Linked DNA regions of Homo sapiens: region 2 is linked to region 1. The links are contacts of gene promoters, found by promoter capture Hi-C in human tissues and cell types (Jung and others, 2019). All regions are on one chromosome and are shown on one strand. Each heading gives the region's core, a stretch centred on a gene start or on the middle of the fragment in contact. The rest is flanking DNA. Distances are from core to core; before and after follow the strand shown. Region 1 holds the start of OR2F1 (olfactory receptor family 2 subfamily F member 1). Region 2 has its middle 15 kb from the start of OR2A14.

The links. The method cuts DNA at HindIII sites, captures the fragments that hold promoters and counts their contacts. A contact is called where the count stands out against the background at its distance.
Region 2: a contact is called between a fragment that was not itself captured here and the fragment with the promoter of OR2F1 in region 1, in 2 of the 25 tissues and cell types used here (liver and spleen).

What each region holds. Positions count from the first base shown.
Region 1 is chr7:143,951,493-143,957,507 of GRCh38, forward strand. OR2F1 (olfactory receptor family 2 subfamily F member 1) reads left to right here and starts at 3,352. Exons shown (of 3, transcript NM_012369.3): 1 at 3,352-3,611. The HindIII fragment of the contact is 7,987 bases long and covers 1,662-6,015 here.
Region 2 is chr7:144,135,276-144,141,290 of GRCh38, forward strand. No RefSeq gene overlaps it. Among named protein-coding and RNA genes, the nearest start is that of OR2A14, 15 kb to the left of the region's middle. The HindIII fragment of the contact is 6,882 bases long and covers 1-5,862 here.

The sequences.
Region 1 (6,015 bases), core at 2,102-4,601:
GGTAAGGGCATCCTAGTGCCAAATATAAAAATTGGCTTGGTTCACCAGGTATGGATGGAGACCCATAACTGCTCATTGGAATAGGGGCTTTGAGGGCTAAAACTCAAGTTCAAGCTACAGGAGAACATCTTAAATCTCACAAAGCTGGCTTCTGTGACTTTTTAGAGTGATCTAAGGCTTCAGTGGAGTTTTTGAGGGGAGAGGGATGGAGGAGCACAGCTTTCCATAGGGACAGGAAGGGCCGCATGGAGGCTCTGCTCTGGAGAACTGGGAGTGGTGACAATTAGCACTCTAATGCATGAAGCTCCTGAGGGAACTCTCTCAGCCCTTCTGTGCAAAGTCAGCCACTAACACACTTCCGTAGGTCTGCGGATCAGCCAATTTGAGGGCGTCTATGAAGTTCCTCCCAGTAGTTTTTCTCTCAATCTAAACTAGTCTCAGGTGATTTCTGAGCCCCTGAGTCCGAGGAGTCTGGGATCCTTAAACTCCATCATCCATCATTTTGTTGGAGGAGAGCATTCTTTACAAAACAACTTAAACGTTTACTGAAATAGGTAAGTCCACTTTTTCAGGCTCTGATGAATATTTTAGACCTCTTAATAGAAATTTCAGCAGAGGGTGAGTGTCAAGAGAAGTTTATAGAGAGGTAGAAGTCATTCTTACATGCAATTTTAGGAAGTTTGGATCAGAAATATGAACCACGAATGATGAAATCGTCTCACCCTAAGTATTGAAACAAATGTAATAAAATAATTTTGTTTTCCAGAAGCTGGAGAACTAACTACACTTTCATTTTATGGGTTTCTCAATTTCAATCTTTATTACTAGTAGAAAAGAAGAGAGAGTGAAAACAGAGGTTGGGGAAGAAAATAATTATTAATTTTTAAATAGAGATACCATGGATGAATTCTACATTATTTTTGGGAAAGACACTTAGAGGAGAAACTCGTAGCTATAAAACTTTTACTTAGATGTTGATTGATATCCATGAACATGTGGCAGGAATATATTACCTTTCCAAATATGTATATTTCCAGATAAATTGTCAATTGTTTTAATGTCTTTTCTCTCAATTATTTCCCTAAGAGTATTTTGATTTTAATTTTCCTTTCTATGATGGAAATTTTAAATGTAAGATGATGAAATAAATTGATAGATGTCTACAGCTCTCAGAATATGAACTGGTACTACAGTTGATGCCCCTGACTCAGGCTTCGTTAATCTAGAGTGTGTTGTAGAGTTGAGACTATTGATAGTCACTGTTGAGACTATCCAGACTAAGGAAATTATGTGCAAAAGAATACCCTAGACTTAGATATAGAAGAGAGGAGATATAAAGAAGATGAGCATTTACAGAATGAAACCATGATAAAACATATCGGCAAAGGCGAATTTTAGGATTGCACCATATTTGAGACACTGGGTCTAATAATTGGACTCAGATTATATGAAAAGTCAACCAAATCAAGACAGGAAATAGACAACAAGGTCTCAAAGAAGAAAGACTAATTGTCTTCTCAGGATATCTAAAACCATCTTTGAGATCTCACCCACCCAGTGGCACTTGGGTTCTGGGTGTCCAAATGTTAGGATGATGGAAATACTTCTGCCCATGATGGATGCATTCAGCGTATACAACCAAGTGCTCAACCGCAGGTCAGATGCACCTTCCTCTAAATGAAATGAACATTTCTAATGACAGCCCAAGTCTGTAAAGGAAGGTGTCTGGTTTATTTAGAGCAGCATGAAAGAAAAACGTATGTTTTTTTGTGGGACTTAACCTTCATGTGCTCTGTTGAATACAGAGTATTCAGAGCTCTATTTGCCTCAGCTAAGATTGTAGAGGACTCCAATAAGAAGGGCAAATAGGATTAAAACTCAGTGGAGTATTAGAATCATGGTGTACTCATTTTCTGGAGAGAAAGTTTTTGGCTTTTTAGTCCTTAGCTTTAGGGAATTATCACTATAATGAATAAGAGAATATTGGTAATATGCCCCGAAGCCTCAGTATGTCTCAGAATAAATTTACAAGGCTCTTACAAGGTTTTATTTAACCATGCACTCTTTGAATTGATGTAAATATTGGAAAGGATTATATTCAGAAATATATTTTTGGAATGTGAGACATTGAGGAATGCTTTTCTGGCGTGCATACCTCCTGAGTCTTTCCAAGTCAACACTTCCCTCTTCCTAATATGGAGGAAAAGGGAGAAGTTAATGTCTTAAGCCAGCCAGTCAATAGAGGTAGAAAATTATGTTAGATACTTTAAAATGTATAATACACTGACTGGGGTAGGATAGCAAATCATGGAACTCAATGTTGCGAATGGAAAATATACCTAGGTGTCAAGCCCTGGACATTTGATTCCTTGCAAGAATAAATTGAATATATTTCAGTCTTGGTCCACAGAGTAGCAATGGAATTTAAATGCAATTAAAAATAATAAAACAAAAATGTGAACAGCAGCACGTGAAGACATTTCCAGAGCCCCACAAATTATGATCCTGTCTGCGTGGCACCAACACAGTGATAAGTTCTGTCAATGCCTGATTGATCTTTAACTATGGGTCTGGCTTCTCATCTTTTACTTGATGAACAGTGGCTCATGGTTCCTCCAACGTCTTCTCATTTCATTAAAGCAGCAATAGGGGGAGGATGTGGCAAAAGGCTGAAAAGGAACTTTAGGGGAGAAGTCATTGTTGCTTGGGGCTGTACCCTTTCTTCTCAGCATTCTGCAGAGCTGTAGGGAGCTGAGCATGGATGGCACCCCCATCTCGGAGATCAACTCTTCAGGGTTAAATAAAATTCTAACAGACTAGTTGGCGGAATGATTGCATAATTTCAAAATACCAGATGTTTACAACAAATATTAACATATATCACTGCCTAAGAATTTACTATGAGTAAGATATTTAACTTCACTTAAGATCTTGCCTTTCCCTGTGTTCTTTTTAAGAAGGGGAGAGGAAAAGGCAATTTTAGAACAGGGGCCACATCTGCTGGAAGGCAGGCCTGAATATAGAGAGCTACAGAGACTTGCATGGAGCTTTTTGGCTCATAGATAAGGGGTTAGAATATAAATTCAGAGAAAGGAAGGCAGGAACGTCTATATAGCCCAATTTTATCTACCCCATCCAGATAAAGGCTAGTCCAGGTTTGAACATCTGCTAACATGGTTCTGTGAATTTTTCACTCTTCATCTTCTTCAGGTGACATATATTTTCAGTCAAAGATATTATAAGATGGTAGTCGATTGAAACAATAAGAAAAAGAGTAATGGGTGAATTTACCGAGATAGGATAGGTTGAAAAAGAACATTTAATTTGTTGCAATTTAGATTTAATTTTTATAATAAAGAAAATAGATTCCATGGAATCAATGAATTGATTTGCTTTACTAAAGAGAGATCTTGACTGATTGAAATTTAACTGTTAAATTAGAGTTTTTTTGTTATGTAAAATGAACTGTGTGAGGAATCTAAACACTTATTTTTTTGTTCTTTCTTTGTCGTTGATAGAAGAATATTTCAGTCCTGATATTTGCTGTAACTAATAATTACTGGATAAACAGAGAAGACACATGGAGGATATTTTACCTGGGTCCAACAAAAGTAATTTTGTTTTATTTATTTGTTTGACAAATAAAAATTGTATATATTTATGGCATAGATTTTAAGAAATCTTGTTACAAAAATAATATGTATGTGATGTGATGCATATATTAATTAGCTTAACTTAGCCATTCCAATAAAGGTAATATTTATCTAGAAAATTTTGAGCTTTGCTATTCATACCTCTTCTCTGATTTTTTTCCTGTAATTTTCAGGTTATTTACATCTAAAACTCCAGCTTTTACTATTATGTGATGTAAAGGATCAGTGTAAGCTGTTATACCAGTTGATAATGTTTAGGTACTTTATATTATAAAAGTTTCATTTAGCATTATTGCATTTTTAAACATTTCACAAAAAAGGACAATGTGCAACATAAATGTAATACATTTCAGGAATTAGAGACAGGGCTTTAAAAAAGATAATCATTCACAGAATATTTCAATAGCACCTGTCTTACTATATCACACATTGTTTTCTATTTCTTATGGTCACAGTGATTATCCTACATTCACCCCAATTCATAAAACACAGGAAGCAGTAATTCCTTTTTTCATTGTGATCCTGTTTATGGAGGTGAACCACAGGGTATGCCATTTTTCAGTACTGTGTTCTGAGCAGGCAGCGTGAATTGGTTATTTTCAATGGTCAAAAGAAAGCTCAGAACACATATAGAAAAAATTGATTTGATGTTTGTTGAGTATGAAGATGATATAACTCTAAGAATGTAAAATAGAATTTTATTGCTTACTAAAGCAACATTAGATGCCTGGCAAAAAGGTAATGTTGTTGGTGTTGGACAAGTACTGTGAAGAGCACAAAAGTCACACTTGTACACCACAAAGAGCTAAATAGGACTATTAGCTGTGTTCATTGTCCAATACTGGTTTTGTAACTTGGCTGCATGCTTGTATTAAGAGGTTTTGGTAGTTGTGTTTGTACAGACAAATTGAAGAAATATTCTCACATTTTTTCCTTAGTTAGTTGACCTCAATGAATGTCACCGGTGTAGGGAAAGTATAGATTCCACAGATTAGAGCAGTAAAGATCAAGCTCTGGCTTCCTATAGAAGTGGTTGGATATGAAGCATGTTACCTGACACCTAGTCCATTCACCTTGATATAAGAATAGAAAGCCAGTTATATTTAGCTGGAAGGTGAGCCCAGAATAATATGGAGATGGTTTTAACTGAAGGTGCATTAAAATCATCTGGCTCATACATATTTCCTCCTTCAACTGGCTTTCCAAATGCAGATGATATTTACATTTTCTTTGTCTAACATCAGTCCATAAACATTCGAAACAAGATATATTTTTTGAATATTAATTATTTTGAAACCCACAATAGCCATGGAAAAACACAGCATACTTGATGGGTTAACATATCAGTGAAAGATATTTAAGTATTAGCAGCCTATTTTAATAAAAGACTGCTGGAAAACACAAGGCATGATAATAAATGCTATAGTTAATAAAATAAAGTTAGTCATAGAAGAAGAGCAGATTATGGATTGGATGAAAAGTATTCTGCCCAGGATAAACTTAAATCTTTACACACTTAGACATTATAGATCTTTTTGTGCTTAAAAAGGACATAAAAATTTGTATTTTATATAATTAACTTGGAGGTTAGAGTGTAGGATTTTGGGAGTGAATGGAAGTTACATTAGGGAAATTTACAAGTAAGGTCTGGCAACTCTAGCAGATGGGAATAAAGAGGGAAAAGGTAAGTGTGGCTGAGAGTAAGGAGGAGATGGGGGAGATATATAATAAAGGAAGAGAATGTATTCTGTGGCATACAGAAGAAGAGGGAAAAATAAAAGATGATTCATTGAGAGAGTAGGAGAAATCTAATTCTGCCGATAGTAAAAAAGAACTCAGGAGGGAATTTCATTCGTGGATAGAGGAGTACAGGCATTGGTGAGATATTTAGGAAACATTCATTCAGCTTTTCTGGAATACACTTGGAGCTTTGAAGAGAAATCTAGAAGGTAAATGTAAAATTGAGAGTGAGCCATATAGAGTTGATAGTAATTATTATAGCTAGAAATAAAAAGACTTCCAAGAAAAACTGTAGAAGTTGAGTACAAGTTCTGAGCACAGAACTTTAGCAAATGCTCATACAGCAGAGCAGGAGAAGGAGGAAGGTTAAGAATGGTGACAAGGCAAATTCGATTGGAGGAAAATCAGGACAGAAGTCCATGACAGAGTTGAGAGTTTGAAGGAACAAATAGGTAACATTGTTAAAAGCTAAGTAAAGAATGCAAATAGAATAAAAATATCTCTGGAACTGATGATGGCAGGTTATCAGTAACCTTTAAGTTTTCAAATTCTAAAGATTAGTGAGGGTAGAAATGTTTACAGTCTCAGGAATAAATATTAGGAAATAAATCCAGACAATGGA
Region 2 (6,015 bases), core at 1,172-3,671, 180 kb after region 1:
AGAAATTTTCAGAGTCCCTCAACCACACTTAAAGAATAGCAGACAGCATATCAAAATGTCAGTCTTCATATATGTAAAATGAGGATAATGATCAGATTAAAATATATAGTCCATATAAAGCAGAAAATGTGTCACATTTTCTGAAACACAAAAAGGGCTCAATAATTGATACTTATGTCTATTTTAATCCTTTTTCATTTGTATCTATCACTTCCTACAGGAAATAGAAATTTATGTTGGCATTGAGAGATCTGTTCCTTCTCAGAGTCCCCATACCAGGTTCCATGAAAACCACCTCTCAACTATCTGAAAGTCACGGCCTCTCTTATACCTTCATGGAGATTGTAGGGAAGTATAAAGTAATAAAACCATAATCATTTTAAGAGTTTGGATATTGTAATTTGTGATGTCTGCCTCATGTTTATGACCCTTGAGATCTGTGAAAGCTTGTGCAGAAATAGTGTGATGCCATCATCTGCCCTGCCTGGTCCTGATAATTTTCCTGTAAGGACAATCAGAAAATCTTTGTTCTCCTCCAGAGAGAAGATCCGGAGATCTTCCCTATACTCCTTAGAGAGAAGACAAATAAGTATATATTATTATCCTCCTGGGAATTTAATTCTCAATAGAAACTCAAGAATGTTTTTATTCATCTGATTCTAAAATAAAAGCTATGCTCCTGGAGTTAGCTAAAGAAACTTCAGTGAGTCCAGTGAATCTGTCTGTATCTGGGATTTAATCCTATGAAGGCTTCCAGAGGGAGTAGGAGTCTATATTCATTTTAGCGGTATGTGTCTCATCTCTGTAGGGTTTATTCTAGGTCAAAATATTATCCTGAGGAAAAGTCTAGTGCTAACATCTCCTTATATAGAAGACATTCATTTCTGCTGGGAGGTGTTTTCCTGTATAGGTAGTTGAACTAGAGCTGGATGACTGCAGAAATCACCATGGCTATGCTGGAAGAACAACATCCCTGGGTGACTTTCCCTCCTGAATCAAAGTGTAGATTGCAGGTAGTTGGAATACACACCAATGTCCCTCTCCTCCTCCCAGGGAACGTCTTCCTGCTCTGCTGTGAACAGGGGTCCCAAGGCTCCCCCAGCATCTCTCGCACCATCACCTGCCAATGTCCCTTGATGGTGGAGGTCAGAGCTAGCCCCATTGTCTCAATGAGAAGGAGCTCAGAGAAGGAGGGGCTTTGTATCCAGGTCTCTGAATAAGGCTTTGAAATAGCCAAATTAATGCAAGGACTCTATACATTACCCAGCCTAAATAAAGATATACATGGCCAGGAAAACCTTTCTCAATGGAAACGAAAAATCTATCACAGTTACATTACATCTTTTTCTATCTGAAAGAGTTTAAAAGGTAAGTCTGTCATAGAATTATGTCTTTGGGGGAACTATCCCAGGCTATCACTACTACTAAGAGTTGGAGAAATAGAATAAAGCACTCTAGCTGAAGAAACATTCTGGGTTGCAGGACTGCCTGGGTGGAAAATAGCTCATACTGATCAAGAAAACCTTTTATTTTCTGATCTGCTATTGTTTTATTTATTCTATTGGAAAGGTGAAATTTTAGGCATCATCACTGTGATATTTTGTTCTCCATTCCAGTGTGTTAGCCACTTAAAGATGTTAATCTGCCTGCAATTTTATTTTTTTTAATTTTGTCTGTTTTTCAACAGCAAATGGTAAGGGTAATGACAATAAAAAGATTTATAATCCAGAAAAAATAACTAGACTAAAATATCAAGAAACGAATGTTCCTACTGGGTAACAATAGATTGAATTATCTTCAATAATATTGTTATCCTTTATATTCAGAAATTAAATATGTTTCAGACATGAGTATTATGTCCAACTCTGTTTAATAAAGATTTTGCAATATGATGTTACTATCCCCACTTGGCGTACTATAGGAATATATCTTATTGTAACAAAATAATTTAATGCATATTTATATAGAACCCTCTTCAAATACAATGTATTTATAGAAATTTAAGAATTTGTGATTTTGCCTTTCTGTTTTATTGAGTTATTGATCTCAAAGAAACACTGCCCATGTGACTGATCCCTCTTAGGCTTAGTTTGCAAAAGTTCACAATGCTCACACATGTATCTTCAAGCTTACCTCTCAGGTTATTTTACCTCCATATGAAGTACTTGCTTCAAAAATCCATTACTCTAAAATTGTCCTCAAGCATTGATTCAAAGCAGGTATATGATACTATATTTGTTTTTTACAGCTTGTGTAACAAATTACCACAAATGTGGTTGAATAAAACAATAGAAATTCATTCTCTCACAGATCTGGAATCTAGTAAAATTTTGCTCCCTTTGGGAAACCTAAAGGAGAACATATTTCATCCCTCTTCCAGCATTCCTCAGTGTCTGGCCACATCTCTGTCTGCTCTGTCGTTGCATCACCTTGCCTCTGTGTGCCTTCAGCAGTTTGTTTCAAATCTCCTTCTGCCTTTATTGCATAAGAAATGTTGTCATTGGAATTAGGGCTCATCCATAAAATTCAGGATTATCTTAAGATTCTTAATCACACCTGCAAAGACCCTCTTTCAAAATAAGGCAATATTCACAGGTGCTGAGGATTAGGATAGGGCTATATCTTTTGGGGGTCACCATTCAATCCACTACACATACAGTACATTTAAGTGGGGCCATTTTATCTACAGACGCAATATAGTCCCTACCATTATGCTAATTTGAATGTATCCTTTGCAAATACTGTTTTTAATTATTTTGACATTTCAAATAATCAAATTGTAGCTGTAATGTTTTTTTAAAAAGTATAAATTATTTTTACACTTTTTTAAAAAAGTATAAATTATTTTTACACTTTTTTAAAAAAGTATAAATTATTTTTACACTTTTTCTAAAAAGTATAAATCATGTCCTGGCCAATAGACAAAAATATATATTATATATATTTACCATATATATTCTATATGTTATATATGTATAGTTTATAGAGTATATTTAATATACATATACATGAATAACTAAATCTATAAGTAAAAATGTCATTCATCTAAGTATTATACTTTTTTTAAAAAGTATAAATCATGTCCTGGCCAATAGACAAAAATATATATTATATACATTTACTATATATATCCCATATATTTTATACATATAGTTACAGAGTATATTTAATATACATATACGTAAATAACTAAATCTATAACTAACTAAAAATGTCATTCACCTAAGTAATAAGCATTTTCTGAGTGTCTACTTTTATCTACAAGTATACTACTTATTACAAGAGATGAAGAAGTATAAGATATATTACCATTCATTATCTGGTGAAGGCATATCTCCATTCAAATAAATGACATTTGATATCCTTGCCCCTTCATCTTTGATTTTACCTTGAGAATTGTCTATATCGTCATAGTGAGGACATAACTCTTTTAACTGTAATGATTGACCAAGCCTATACCTTTAATATGTGCCTAAAGAGCCTACCCTTGTGCCTCTACTCTAATTTGCTAGAATAGAAAAGACTCTCTTTATAGGCCGTCTATCAAGTAGGTTTTCAATGGGGCCTAGACAAGTTCAAGCAGGCTGCTTCCTTTCTTTTTATAGTAACTGGTTGTAAACATGCAAGAAAATCCTTCCAAGAAGAGGCTATGATTCCACTACAATTCCCCTTCACACTTATACAATGAGGCTAGTGGATAAGCATAGTAATGACATTAGTATTTTTGAAAGATTCATATGACTTTTGCAACTTAAATATAGGCCTGCCTGAGAATTTACATTTACCTATGCCTCAAATCCTCCAAACGGATAGTCAAAATTCTCAAAATTTTATTACTGAATCCATCTTACATTCTTATGCACTAAAAAATAAAGTCAGTAACAAGTATAAACTGAAAATATATCCATCATAGAAAGAGATTTATAACTATCTGGGAGTGTGTCTGCTTTATAGAAACCTTGCCATTTGCCATGTGTGATAAAATGAAATTATATTTATACAACATTTTAAGTGCTATGTTATTGATTATTTTAAATTATTTTTTAACTTGTCATTTCTGTGTGAGTAAAGATATTATCTTTTATTTAATATATATGAAGTGTTAACTCATTCTCAATGTCATTCACCTATGAAGCAGGACTTCCCCTCAAGGCAGAAACTGAAATTGAGAAGGAAACACTAGATTAGATAAAACATGAGAAATCTGTATTTGTTGTGCTTAATAATATATGTAGAAAGATGTCTAGGTGGGAAATCTGAAGTGCAATGTTAAGATGGTTCTTTCACATGGGACCGCATGGAACCTGGGGAGTAGCAGAAGGTTAATTTGAGATTACAGCATCATGATTGATAAATTAGACATCCTCTTCCACTAGGAGGCATCTTACAGTGATACACCTTAATATATTTGGGATTTTTGCTTGTTTGATTTTTAGATGAGTACACAGAGATATATAAATACATAAATTGATTGACTTGACTGAGCACTTCTAAGTCTCAGAATTTACTATTAAAAATGTCATGAAAAAAGACAACAAATACAAACATATACATATATAATTTAATTACTGAAGCATTATATAGCACACAATCTAATGATGAGATAATACATTAAGTCCATTAGAATATTTGTATTGAATAATAGCTGTTCAAACTATGTTTCAGAGAAATATTTTGACATGGGAAATGGTTCATGATATATGATAGAGCTAGTTAAACAAATAGCATTTTTCATATAATTTTTATAATAATGATATATATGAAATAAACAGTAGAAAAGTATAACTGCACAATTATTTAAAATGATCACTTTTGTTTGTATGTTTCAACATGTCATCTCTTTAGTCCTTTAACTAGAGTTTCACGTTTTTCTAGGTTTTTAAAACTTCAAGTCAAAATCTCATACAAAGTAGGTATCACATTGTTTACACAAGGGTTCACACAAAATCTAAAATATTCAAGATTCTAAAATTTCTAAATAAGAATAAAAGCAGGAAAATAATATAAAACCTGATGGTTAATAAGGTAGTAGAATTACAAACATGTATTTTTCACCAAAAATAAAATAATAAATATCAAAACCATTTTCTTCAATGCTAACACCATAAAGGAAGTCAGTTAAGTTATATTATTTTCAGAAGAATCTTGAGAATGTATTATCCCCATAATAATTTGTATGCTTTCTCAAATTATATGCTCTTGTTTTTAATGTAGAATACCAGAAATTCATGCTATCCTCATGATAAAAATCATGATAAAATACAAATTATCATGATAAAATATAAATTATTAAAAATCCAATAAAACCCAGATGAATATAAATATCGGCTTATAAATATAATTCTTTATTAAAAGTGATTATAACTTTTGGGGGAAATGGCTGTTTTGTGATTGAAGTGGGGAGTATACAAAGGGAGCTTGAAACATCTGGTCATATCAGAAGGAAATAACTGCTCAAATATTATGGGAACATGTTAAAAAGACAGAGGAGCATGCTTAGAAGGCCTAGATATAGGAAAATTAAGCACCAAAAAATGACAACAATGAAGCAACCCACTGAATAAAAAAATCCATGAGTCTATACTGATGGATAGATAGATGACAGATAGCAGATAGATAACAGATGATAGATAACAGATAGAGAGCAGATAGATAATAGATAGGTAAGTGAATGAAGAATTTTTTATACTAAAGTTGCCAACTAATAAATGTAAAAGCAATTATAGAGTCAGAACAACACATTTTGAATCATTATTAATAACTGAGTTAGGCAAGATAATCAATAGATGCTAAAACTAGTGACTGAAAGGAACTAGTGAAGTGACATTATGAGGAACAAGCTACATATATAATAATTTTAATGGGTACTCCAGAAACTAATTAGGGAAAAAAAAATCACATAATGGAGATATCTGGGAAGCACCATCTTCACCAAGTGATCCAAGTTAGCTTCACCCCAATAACAGGACAAATTAATATCATATACTTTCTCAGAACACACAGACGAGAATACTA